Linked DNA regions of Homo sapiens: region 1 is linked to region 2. The links are contacts of gene promoters, found by promoter capture Hi-C in blood cells and fetal thymus (Javierre and others, 2016). All regions are on one chromosome and are shown on one strand. The core of a region is centred on a gene start or on the middle of the fragment in contact, and the rest is flanking DNA. Distances in the headings are between cores, read along the strand shown.

What was found. The method cuts DNA at HindIII sites, captures the fragments that hold promoters and counts their contacts. A CHiCAGO score of 5 or more calls a contact.
Region 1: a fragment that was not itself captured here is called in contact with the fragment with the promoter of CAAP1 in region 2 in 3 of 17 cell types (non-activated CD4 T cells, total CD4 T cells and total CD8 T cells); the score reaches 5.9 in non-activated CD4 T cells.

Annotation. Positions count from the first base shown.
Region 1 is chr9:27,026,146-27,031,597 of GRCh38, reverse strand. IFT74 (intraflagellar transport 74) reads right to left here. Exons shown (of 20, transcript NM_025103.4): 13 at 2,494-2,573. Among named protein-coding and RNA genes, the nearest start is that of LRRC19, 23 kb to the right of the region's middle. The HindIII fragment of the contact is 2,918 bases long and covers 1,509-4,426 here.
Region 2 is chr9:26,890,998-26,896,084 of GRCh38, reverse strand. It overlaps CAAP1 (caspase activity and apoptosis inhibitor 1), which reads left to right and starts at 3,283. Exons shown (of 6, transcript NM_024828.4): 1 at 3,283-3,672. The coding sequence starts at 3,370. It also overlaps the pseudogene RN7SL100P. RefSeq lists enhancers at 3,054-3,123, 2,725-3,304, 3,254-3,473, 3,554-3,733, 3,305-3,884. The HindIII fragment of the contact is 2,677 bases long and covers 2,819-5,087 here.

The DNA.
Region 1 (5,452 bases), core at 1,718-4,217, 140 kb before region 2:
TGAGTAAAGTTAAGGGCCTGATTTCAGCTAAGTGGTCGAAGAAACTATTTACTCTGAAGGACTTCAATATAAGATATAAACTCTCAAGTATTAATCTGTAGTAAGAATAAAAGAATTTCTTTTTTTTTTTTAAGACGGAGTCTCGCTCTGTCACCCAGGCTGGAGCATAGAGGCGCGATCTTGGCTCACTGCAAGTTCCGCCTCCTGGGTTCACACCATTCTCCTGCCTCAGCCTCCTGAGTAGCTGGGACTACAGGCGCCCACCACCAGGCCCGGCTAATTTTTTGTATTTTTTAGTAGAGACAGGGTTTCACCGTGGTCTCGATCTCCTGACCTGGTGATCCGCCCACCTCGGCATCCCAAAGTGCTGGGACTACAGGCGTGAGCCACCGCACACGACCTAAAAGAATTTCTTAACAGATTCCTTAACAAAAACAAGCTGGGCACAGTAACATGGACCTGTAGTCCCGGCTACTTGGAAGGCTGAGGCAGTAGGACTGCTTGAGCCCAGGAGTTCAAGGCCACAGTAAGCTATGATCATGCCTGTAAATAGTCACTGCACTCTAGCCTGGCCAACACAGCAAGATTCATCTCCATTTAAAAACAAAAAAGTCACTTGGCTATATGTTAGAAGTAAGCCTTGAGGATAAAAACATCCTTATTAAAAATAGTATCCCATGTTGAGTGAAAATATAAGCTGCTATTGTCCACTTGGTGTGTTCTGCTTTACTTGGAAGAACAATACTTTTTCTATTACTTTCCCTTGCTTATACAGAGCCAATATTTTAAAAAGCAATAATTAAGCAAATATGCAATTGTTGGCATTTCAACTAAGAAAGGAGAAATCAGGATGGGTTCAGGCTTTTTGGAAAGTAGCATGACATCTGCCAATAATACTCCGCTTTACTAATGATGCAGAGCTTGTAGCCAAATTCTGACCATATAACTTTCATTAGAGCTATTTCTCATTGTTTCTAGTTAGCACACACATACACAAATTCCTTCCCTGCTAAAATATAGAACAGTGTACCCTTTTTTTTTTTTTTTTTTGAGACGGAGTCTTGCTCTGTCACCCAGGCTGGAGTGCAGTGGTGTGATCTTGGCTCACTGCAACCTCCGCCTCCTGGGTTCAAGCCATTCTCCTGCCTCAGCCTCCCAAGTAGCTGAGATTACAGGCATGCGCCACTACTAAAAATTTAAAACTTAGCTGGATGTAGTGGCAGACGTTATATATTCCCAGCTACTCAGGAGGCTGAGACAGGAGGATCACTTGAACCCAAGAGTCTGAGGTTGCAGTGAGCTGTGATTGAGCCACTGCACCGCTATGAATGTTTCCTTAGCCATAACAAGAATACATGTACATGTGCACACTGTTTATACCATACCTAACTCATAAGAATATACAATCAATTCTTGATAATCCAAGAGCATAGTAACTGGTTTGCAGTTAAACTATGATTAAAATGCTATGGAGAATCTACTTTTATCTTTCTTATTAGGGAGAAGCTTGTTAGGAAACTGATGCTCAACCTCCTCCTTTAACCATAAATAACAATGTAGCCCCCACACCCAAACCCCCACCACAGTATTTCTACATAGTCAAACCCCAAGCTCCCTCAGGTGTTCTGGTACCTGCATTAGTTCTTCAAATTCCACTCCTGGGGAAAGTTGGGGAGGATAAGGTTAATCAGTCTTTGCTACTTCATTACTAGACCTGGGTGGGGAATTAATTCTGTCTGGATTATTTGTGTGGTATTTGTGATTTGATTTTCATCCCCTCTAACGCTACCAGTTACTGCCATTAGTAGTTGACTATATTATTATTATTTAATTAATTTATTTATTTATTGAGACCGAGTTTCACTCTTGTGGCCCAGGATGGAGTGCAGTGGTGCGATCTTGACTCACCGCAACCTCTGCCTCCGAGTTCAAGTGATTCTCCTGCCTCAGCCTTTCCGAATAGCTGGGATTACAGGCCTGTGCCACCACGCCCGGCTAATTTTTGTATTTTTAGTAGAGATGTGGTTTCTCCATGTTGGTCAGGCTGGTCTCGAACTCCCGACCTCCGATGATCTGCCCGCCTCAGCTTCCCAAAATGCTGGGATTACAGGCGTGAGCCACCACACCCGGCCGACTATATTGTTTATAGTAAACTATTGACTATTACTAGGAAGGAAGTGTAACTTAGGAGGAAGTATAACTTAGGAATCTCTAACAACTTTAAACATTTTACTTCTGTTTTTGTAAAAAAAAAAACAAACTGCTTGGCAAAGCTAAATAAATTTTATGCAATCATTTTAACTCATAAGTGGTCAGTTTAAATCATTGCTTTAATATTACTCATACAGTATATATTTTAGTAAAGTTAGTAATATCATAGAGAATTAAATAATAAATCCCAGGTAGTTGAACAGTCTCTGAGACACCAGTTAACACTATATTAATACTGCTAAACATCTGTTAATCTACATTATAAAAATACCAGAAGCATACCTTGGTGTTCCTCTAAATCCATGTCAAGTTGTCTAATTTCTTCAATAAACTGATTTATCTTTTCTTTTGTATCTGTTAACCTGTTGAAAATATTTTTAATGAATTTATGAAGGAAATATAGACATTCAATAAAAACAATTGATGGGGAGGTTAGATATCTTTTCCAAGTTGCATAAACAATATCTAAAAATAATATGTCTTATTCTAAGGACAATACTATAACTGACGATGACATTAGGATATCTTTTACAAATTGCATAAATATCGAAAAATAGCATATCCTATTATGAGGACAATACTATAAATTTAGAGAGGAAGAATCTTGTCTAGATCTTTTTTTTTTTTTCTTTGAGACGGGGTCTCGCTCTGCCACCAGGCTGAAGTTCAGTGGTGCGATCTCGGCTCACTGCAATCTCTGCCTCCCGGGAAAAAGCGATTCTCCTGCCTCAGCCTCCCGAATAGCTGGGACTAGAGGCACGCGCCTCCATGCCCAGCTAATTTTTGTATTTTTAGTAGAGACGGGGTTTCACCATGTTGGCCATGATGGTCTCGATCTCTTGACCTCGAGATCCACCTGCCTCAGCCTCCCAAAGTGCTGGGATTACAGGCGCGAGCCACTGCGCCAAGCATAGATCTTTTTTACTGATTCATATTTGGAGCCCAGGTATATTCTGAGAACACTAGTTGCCTGAGTTAAACAGCACACCCCCTCCCAACTTTCCTTTGAGTTTGATTTGCAGTATTAAGAAAATGAAAAATATTTAACAATACTTTTTGTAGGTTTCTATAAGCCAAATTAAGTTGGAAAATTAGTCTCAAAAATGAGAAAATAAGGGAAAACCTACCACTGGCAGAAGATTATATAGGTTAATATTTTAACATAAAGCAGTTATACTTACTCTAAAGCTACCATAACAAAACAATGTAGTATAGGCATAGGGATAGACATATATATCAATGGACTAAAATTGTGAGTCCAGAAATATGACCATATATCTATAGCTAACCGATTTTTGATAAGGGTGCTAAGGTAATTAAATGGGGAAAGAAGAGTATTTTCAATAAATGGTGCTGGGAAAAGTGCATATGCAGAAGCTAAGGGACTCCTACCTCACATCATACACAGAATTAACTTGAAATGGATCAAAGATCTCAATGTAAGAACTAAATTACCAAACTCTTAGAAGAAAACATAGACATAGTCTTTATGACCTTGGATTAGGCATTGGTTTCTTAGATATGACACTAAAAGCAAGAGCAACAAAAGAAAAATAGAAAAACTGGACAAAATCAAAATTGGAAACTTTTATGCTTCCAAAGACACCAAGAAAATGAAAAGATAATTCATAGAATTCATAGAACAAGGGAAAATTTTTACAAATCATGTATCTGATGACACCTCTATCTAGCATATATAAGGAAATGTTACAACTCAGTAATCAAAAACAATCTAGTTTAAAAAATGAGCAAATGAACTAAGTAAACATTTCCCCCAAAGAATATGGCCAATAAGCATATGAAAGGAACCTCAACATCATTAGCCATCAAACAAATACAAATCAAAACCATAGTGAGACACCGCTTCATACCCATTAGGAATGGCTATAATAGAAAAAGAGATAATAACAAGTGAGGATGTGAAAAACTGGAACCCTCACATGCTGCTCATATGCTGCTCTTATTATATTACATAGAAATGTAAAACAGTACCAATTCTTTGAAAGTCTGATAGAATTCAGCTGTGGCTCCATCTGGTCCTGGACTTTTTGTTGGCAATTTTTTTTTTTTAACCATTTCAATCTCACTGCTCGTTAATGGTCTGTTCAGAGTTTCTATTTCTTCCTACTTTAATCTAGGATTGTATATTTCCAGGAATCTATCCGTCTCCTCTAAGTTTTCTAGTTTGTGCGTGTAAAGGTGCTCACTGTAAGCTTGGTCTTTTGTATTTCTGTGGTATTGGTTGTAGTATCTCCCATTTTGTTTCTAATTGAGCTTATTTGGATCTTTTCTCTTCTTTTCTTGATTAATCTTGCTATTGGTCTATCAATTTTGTTTATCTTTTCAAAGAACCAGCTTTTTGCTTCATTTATCTTTCAATTTTTTGTTTCAATTTAATTTAGTTCTGCTCTGATGTTTGTAATTTCCTTTTCTTTTGGTGGGTTTGGGTTTTGTTTGTGCTTGTTGCTCTAGTTCCTTGAGGTGTAACGTTAGATTGTCTATTTGTGTTCTTTCAGACTTTTTGATGTAGGCACTTAATGCTCTGAATGTTCCTCTAGGCACTGCTTTTGCTGTATCCCAGAGGTTTTAATAGGTTGTGTCATTATTATTGTTCAGTTCAAAGAATTTTTAAATTTCCATCTTGATTTCATTGTTGACCTAAAGATCATTCAGGAGCAAATTATTTAATTTCCATGTATCTGCATGGTTTTTAAGGTTCCTTTTGGAGTTGATTTCCAGTTTTATTCCACTGTGGTCTGAGAATACTTGATATAATTTTGATTTTCTTAAATTTATTGAGACTTGTTTTGTGGCCTATCATATGGTCTGTCTTGCAGGACGTCCCATGTGCTGATGAACAGAATGTATATTCTGCAGTTGTTGGGTAGAATGTTCTATAAATATCTGTTGAGTCCATTTGTTCTAGGGTATAATTTAAATCCATTGTTTCTTTGTTGACTTTCTGACCCGTCTAGTGCTGTCAATGGAGTATTGAAGTCCCCCACTATTAATTGTATTGCTGTCTATCTCATTTGTTAGGTCTAGTGGTAATTGTTTTTTACATTTGGGAGCTCTAGTGTTAGGTGCATATAGATTTAGTACTGTGATATTTTCCTGTTTGATTAGTCCTTTTATCATTACATAATGTCCTTCTTTGTCTTTTTCAATTGTTGTTAAAGTCTGTTTTGTCTAATATAAGAATAGCTACTCCTACTTGCTTTTGGGACCATTTGCATGGAAT
Region 2 (5,087 bases), core at 2,034-4,533:
TCGGCTCACTGCAACCTCCGCCTCCAGGGTTCAAGCAATTTCTGGCTAATTTTTGTATTTTTAGTAGAGACGGGACTTCACCATGTTGGCCAGGCTGGTCTTGAACTCTTGACCTCAAGTGATCCGCCTGCCTCGGCCTCCCGAAGTGCTAGAATTATAGGTGTGAGCCACCACGCCCAGCCTAGCGTGGGAGTTTTTACCTGTTCCATTTTGGACCTCGGCCAGTTCACCCCCCTTAGACAACCTGGTGGCTTCCACTCCCAAAAGGTCACCATATTAGTGCTGAACTAAGTGCAGACAACTGATCAGTACAGCGCACTACAGCCCAGAATTTCTGGCCTCAAGCAATCCTCCCCAGTTTGCCTCTTGAGTAGCTTGCACTGCAGGCATGCACCACTGTACCAGGCTTTTTTTTTTTTTTTGAGACGGAGTCTTGCTCTGTCGCCCAGGCTGGAGTGCAGTGGTGCGATCTTGGCTCACTGCAAGCTCCACCTCCTGGGTTCACGCCATTCTCTTGCCTCAGCCTCCTGAGTAGCTGGGACTACAGGCGCCTGCCACCACGCCCAGCTAATTTTGTTTTTGTATTTTTAGTAGAGACGGGGTTTCACCGTGTTAGCCAGGATGGTTTCCATCTTCCTCATGATCCACCCGCCTCGGCCTCCTAAAGCACTGGGATTACAGGCGTGAGCCACCATGCCTGGCCCAGACTCTTCTTTTAATAAGGACACCAGTTATATTAGATTAGGGACCCACCCTTATGACTTCATTTAACCTTAATTACCTCCTTAATGACCCTATCTCCAAATTCAGTCACATTGGGGTTAGGGATTCAACATATGAATTCTGTGGGTGATGTTATAGGACCATCAGGTTCTATTAACCACTACATGGTACCAGACCAATACATGGAAACAGCAGGAGTTGCAGCAGAGAAAGAGTTTAATAATGGTATGCCAGCCAAGGGAGAAGATGGGAGGGAACCTCAAATCACCTCCCCAGTAAGTTTTTGGACAGGGGTTTTTAAGGGAATTTTGGTGGGTAGGGGGCTGAGGAGCTAGGGGTTGCTGATTGGTTAGGGCATGGGGGATGTAATCATAAGGAGGTAGAAAGTGCATTCTTGTGCTGAGTTCGTTTCTCAGAAGGGGTCTTCAGACTGAGTAGCATCAGTGACCCCACTGATATGGTTCCAATGACTGGAGGAACACCACAGTCTTTTGTCTCGTGCTGGTTTAAATAAAACGATACAGACACAAGTGGAATTGTTTTAAGGAGCGGAGAATTTAATAGGCAAGAAAGAAGAGGCTCCCTCATACAGAACCAGAGGGAAGAGGGCTCCCAGATGAAAGAGGGAACCTTGGGTGCAGCAGACAAGAGCCAGTTATATTATGAGGCTGGAGGAGGTGGTGACTAATTTGCATATGACCCAGGGAATTGGTTTGACCAGGTATGTCATTCACGTAGCCTGCAAAAAAAGTGGCCCTCCCACCCTAGCCTTTTAATATGCGAATGTAGGGTGCCACAATGTTCTACACATGTGGGGATATGTGGGGATGGCCATGTTGCTAGGCACATGTGGGGACAAGAAGAAGAGGGGAATCGCCATACTGAGTAAACCCAGTTTCTAACGGCCTGCATTTGCATATCATAGCTTGCCAGCCCAGCTTTTTTGCTAGACAAGAAACATTTCTGGAGCTGCTTTAAAAGAAAAAAAACTTCCCAAAGACCCCTTTACCTCTCTATCTGCCTAAAATAATTTCTTAACTTCTGTAACACCATTGGAGTACAGAATCTGGTAAATATCTCAAAATGGAAAACTTGAGATTTCTTAACCGAGTCAAAGATATCTATAAAGCAATAAGCAGCTATAAGGAAGTGGGCTATAGGAAAAGTTGGTTAACGTTTAGCTATGCTTCTACTAAAAGCTTATCTTTTGTCACAAATCCAGCAATTTGGCAGGGCACGATGGCTCACGCCTGTAATCCCAGCACTTTGGGAGGCTGAGGCGGGTGGATCACCTGAGGTCGGGAGTTCGAGACCAGCCTGACCAACATGGAGAAACCCCTTGTCTACTAAAAATACAAAATTAGCCCTGCATGGTGGCGCATGCCTGTAGTCCCAGCTACTCAGGAGGCTGAGGCAGGAGAAATGCTTGAACCCGGGAGGCGGAGGTTGCAGTGAGCCGAGATTGTGCCATTGCACTCCAGCCTGGGCAACGAGAGTGAAACTCCGTCTCAAAAAAAAAAAAAAGAAAAAAGAAAAAATCTAGCAATTTAGTTTTATTAAAATTATGATGGTTTCAGGGACACAATTCATAACAGGTTTATAAATGTAACATGTTATTAATTTTATGTGTTTTTCCTATCTGTGAACACAACACTCTCAATCCTTTCAGGTATGACTCCAATGAGTGTGATACTTAACGGAACTCCTGGGAACACAGTGGGCTCAGCCCCAGGATTTACCTTACAAGGCCAATTTAAGAGTGGGGCCTGGGGGAAGACAGTTTTCCTAGGGCTGGAAGTGTCCCTATTTATTAACCCTAGGCTGGTTTTAGGCATTTAAGTAGTTGTTGAATGACTGAGACAAATAGGAGACAAAGAGAAGGGAAGCTTCTTTAATTGCTTCTTACCCCAGGGAAAGGCACAGAATTACTACCACCCAGCTAGCTTTGCCCCAGGCTCTACCTTTTTCCCTCAGTGGCTAAAGGCCCCTGCTGAAACGACAAAGACCTTGGTTCACGTTTTAAGTGTTCTAGCTCCCTTGTCTTAAAATCTGCCTTCTATTTAGATTACATCCACCCATAAAATCTCATAAAGCTTTGACCCATTCTCAATTTTCAAAAACGAACTCAAGCTCTACTTGTCCATGTCAGACTCTACGCAAGAAATACCTAATTTGCCCAGGTGATGAGGAAAATGAGATGGAACAACTTTTCCCTATTCTCTTTATTGTCATAGCGTTGTTAATATCTTAAGATTTGGAGGTAAACGGAAATGGAGAATCAGCAACTATACTTCAACCTTATTGTAAACAGACAAAACACTAACAATAAAAAGTTTTGAAGTTAAAAGGACGTAAGTTCCACCTTCTATCCTTTGTAGAGATATAAAAACAAAACAAAACAAACTCTGACTAGACAGGCTACCCGCTACACACTCAAATCGACCTCCGCGACCGGAGGGGGAAGCGCAACTGGTTATGGCAACCCCCCTGCCACCCCGGCCCATAACGCTTCACCACGTTCTGTGCCACGGCCGGAAGTGACGCATAACCTGCGACGCCAGTGCCTGCCGCCCACGGCCGCAGGAGTCGGGCTTCGGTCGCACCAGAGACAGCGGACTTTCCTCCGATGGTTGCAGCAGAGGGATCATGACGGGGAAAAAGTCCTCCCGGGAGAAACGGCGCAAACGTAGCAGTCAGGAGGCGGCCGCAGCGCTCGCGGCCCCGGACATCGTACCCGCGTTGGCCAGCGGCAGCAGTGGAAGCACTAGCGGCTGCGGGAGCGCCGGGGGCTGCGGGAGCGTCAGCTGCTGTGGGAACGCCAATTTTAGTGGAAGTGTCACCGGCGGTGGGAGCGGCGGCAGCTGTTGGGGCGGGAGCAGCGTGGAGCGCAGCGAGCGCCGGAAGCGGAGGAGTACCGACTCTTCCAGCGTCTCGGGCTCCTTGCAGCAGGTGCGTGCGCGCCCCTCTGGCCGCTTCCTGGAGCTGCTGCTTTTTCGGAAGAAGTCGGGCTTCCAGAGGGATGGGGCGCAGGCTGGAGCTCACTGCTAGCGCGGCAATCTCAAGGTCGTCCGTCCTTGAGGTTCATGTTCCTACCTAAGTCCTGGTGAGCCCCACACTCCCATCCGTGTCTTGAATCTTGAACTTCAAGTTTCTGGATTTCCTGATCACTTTTTTTTTAATTTATTTTTTAAACTCTTGGCTCCTTCCACTCCTATGGTTTCACTCTGCCGGAAGAATACGAGTTGGAAGCTAGCCTTCATTTCCCTTGCGAGCCAAACACTTCTCCCTTCGTCTTCACCTTTTCGTAGATATGGTTAACTCCGCATTAGAGATAAGAAAATTGAGGCCCAAAGAAGTTAAACTTTACCCACGGTCACAGAGTTTGTTAATAGCTCCTAGGTTTGAATCCAAATATCTGACTACAAAAGCCATGTTCTTTATACGCCACCAGTCTGCCAAGAGAACGCCGTTTTAAAAAAGTTCATAATTTGTTTGAAAACAAATGAATGAATAGGTACTTTAAATTCATTCAATGAGGAAATAAAGGGAAAGCGTCAAGTCCCTTTTCTTGCCCCTCCATTAGTATTTTGATACGCGGCCTCTTTTAATCACTCCTCGTGAGATACGTGTTTTTAAGTTCCTACACTTAAGCTGTATTGTGTTATTCCCGCTGTTGAATACCTGCATTGTTGTGATAGGCTTCTTTATATACGTGGTTTGTTATTTTTACTGACTGCCTGGTATTGTATTATATTTTTCTGATATTTGGGTGTGCAGGTTTTTTTGTATTGTTGTGACTACAATACAAACACCTTTATGTATATATCTCCTACAAGAGTTATGTTGGGAGAGAGTGTGAGAACTGAAATTCCTGGGTCAAAGTTTATGCTATTAAAAACTTATGAATGCCACCAAATGCTTTCCAAATGAGACTTTACAGATTTATAGTCCAAACAGTATATATATAAGAATACCTATTTCTGAGATTCTTAACTAGCTTTTGATGACATTTTGATGGCATTTTTTAAAAAAATTGCCAGACTAGTGGGTCAAATTAATAGTTTGTTTTAATTTTTATTTTCCTTATTAGTGAGATTGAACATTTTAATATTTTTATTTGCCATTTGATTTCTTCTTATGTAATTTTCTGTACATATCCTCTGCTCATTATTCTCTTTGGTAGAGTAGAAACAGTTTATGTAGAGATTTTATCAGGTGGTTTTCTGGCATTCTGTTGAGATGATCACATACTTTTTCTCCTTTAGTCAGATAATGTAATTTGTTGATAAGTTAGTTGATGTTGAACAGTCTTTGGAGTCTTGGGACAAGTGCTGTTTGGTTTGTTGAGTTTGTTGTACTTGGCT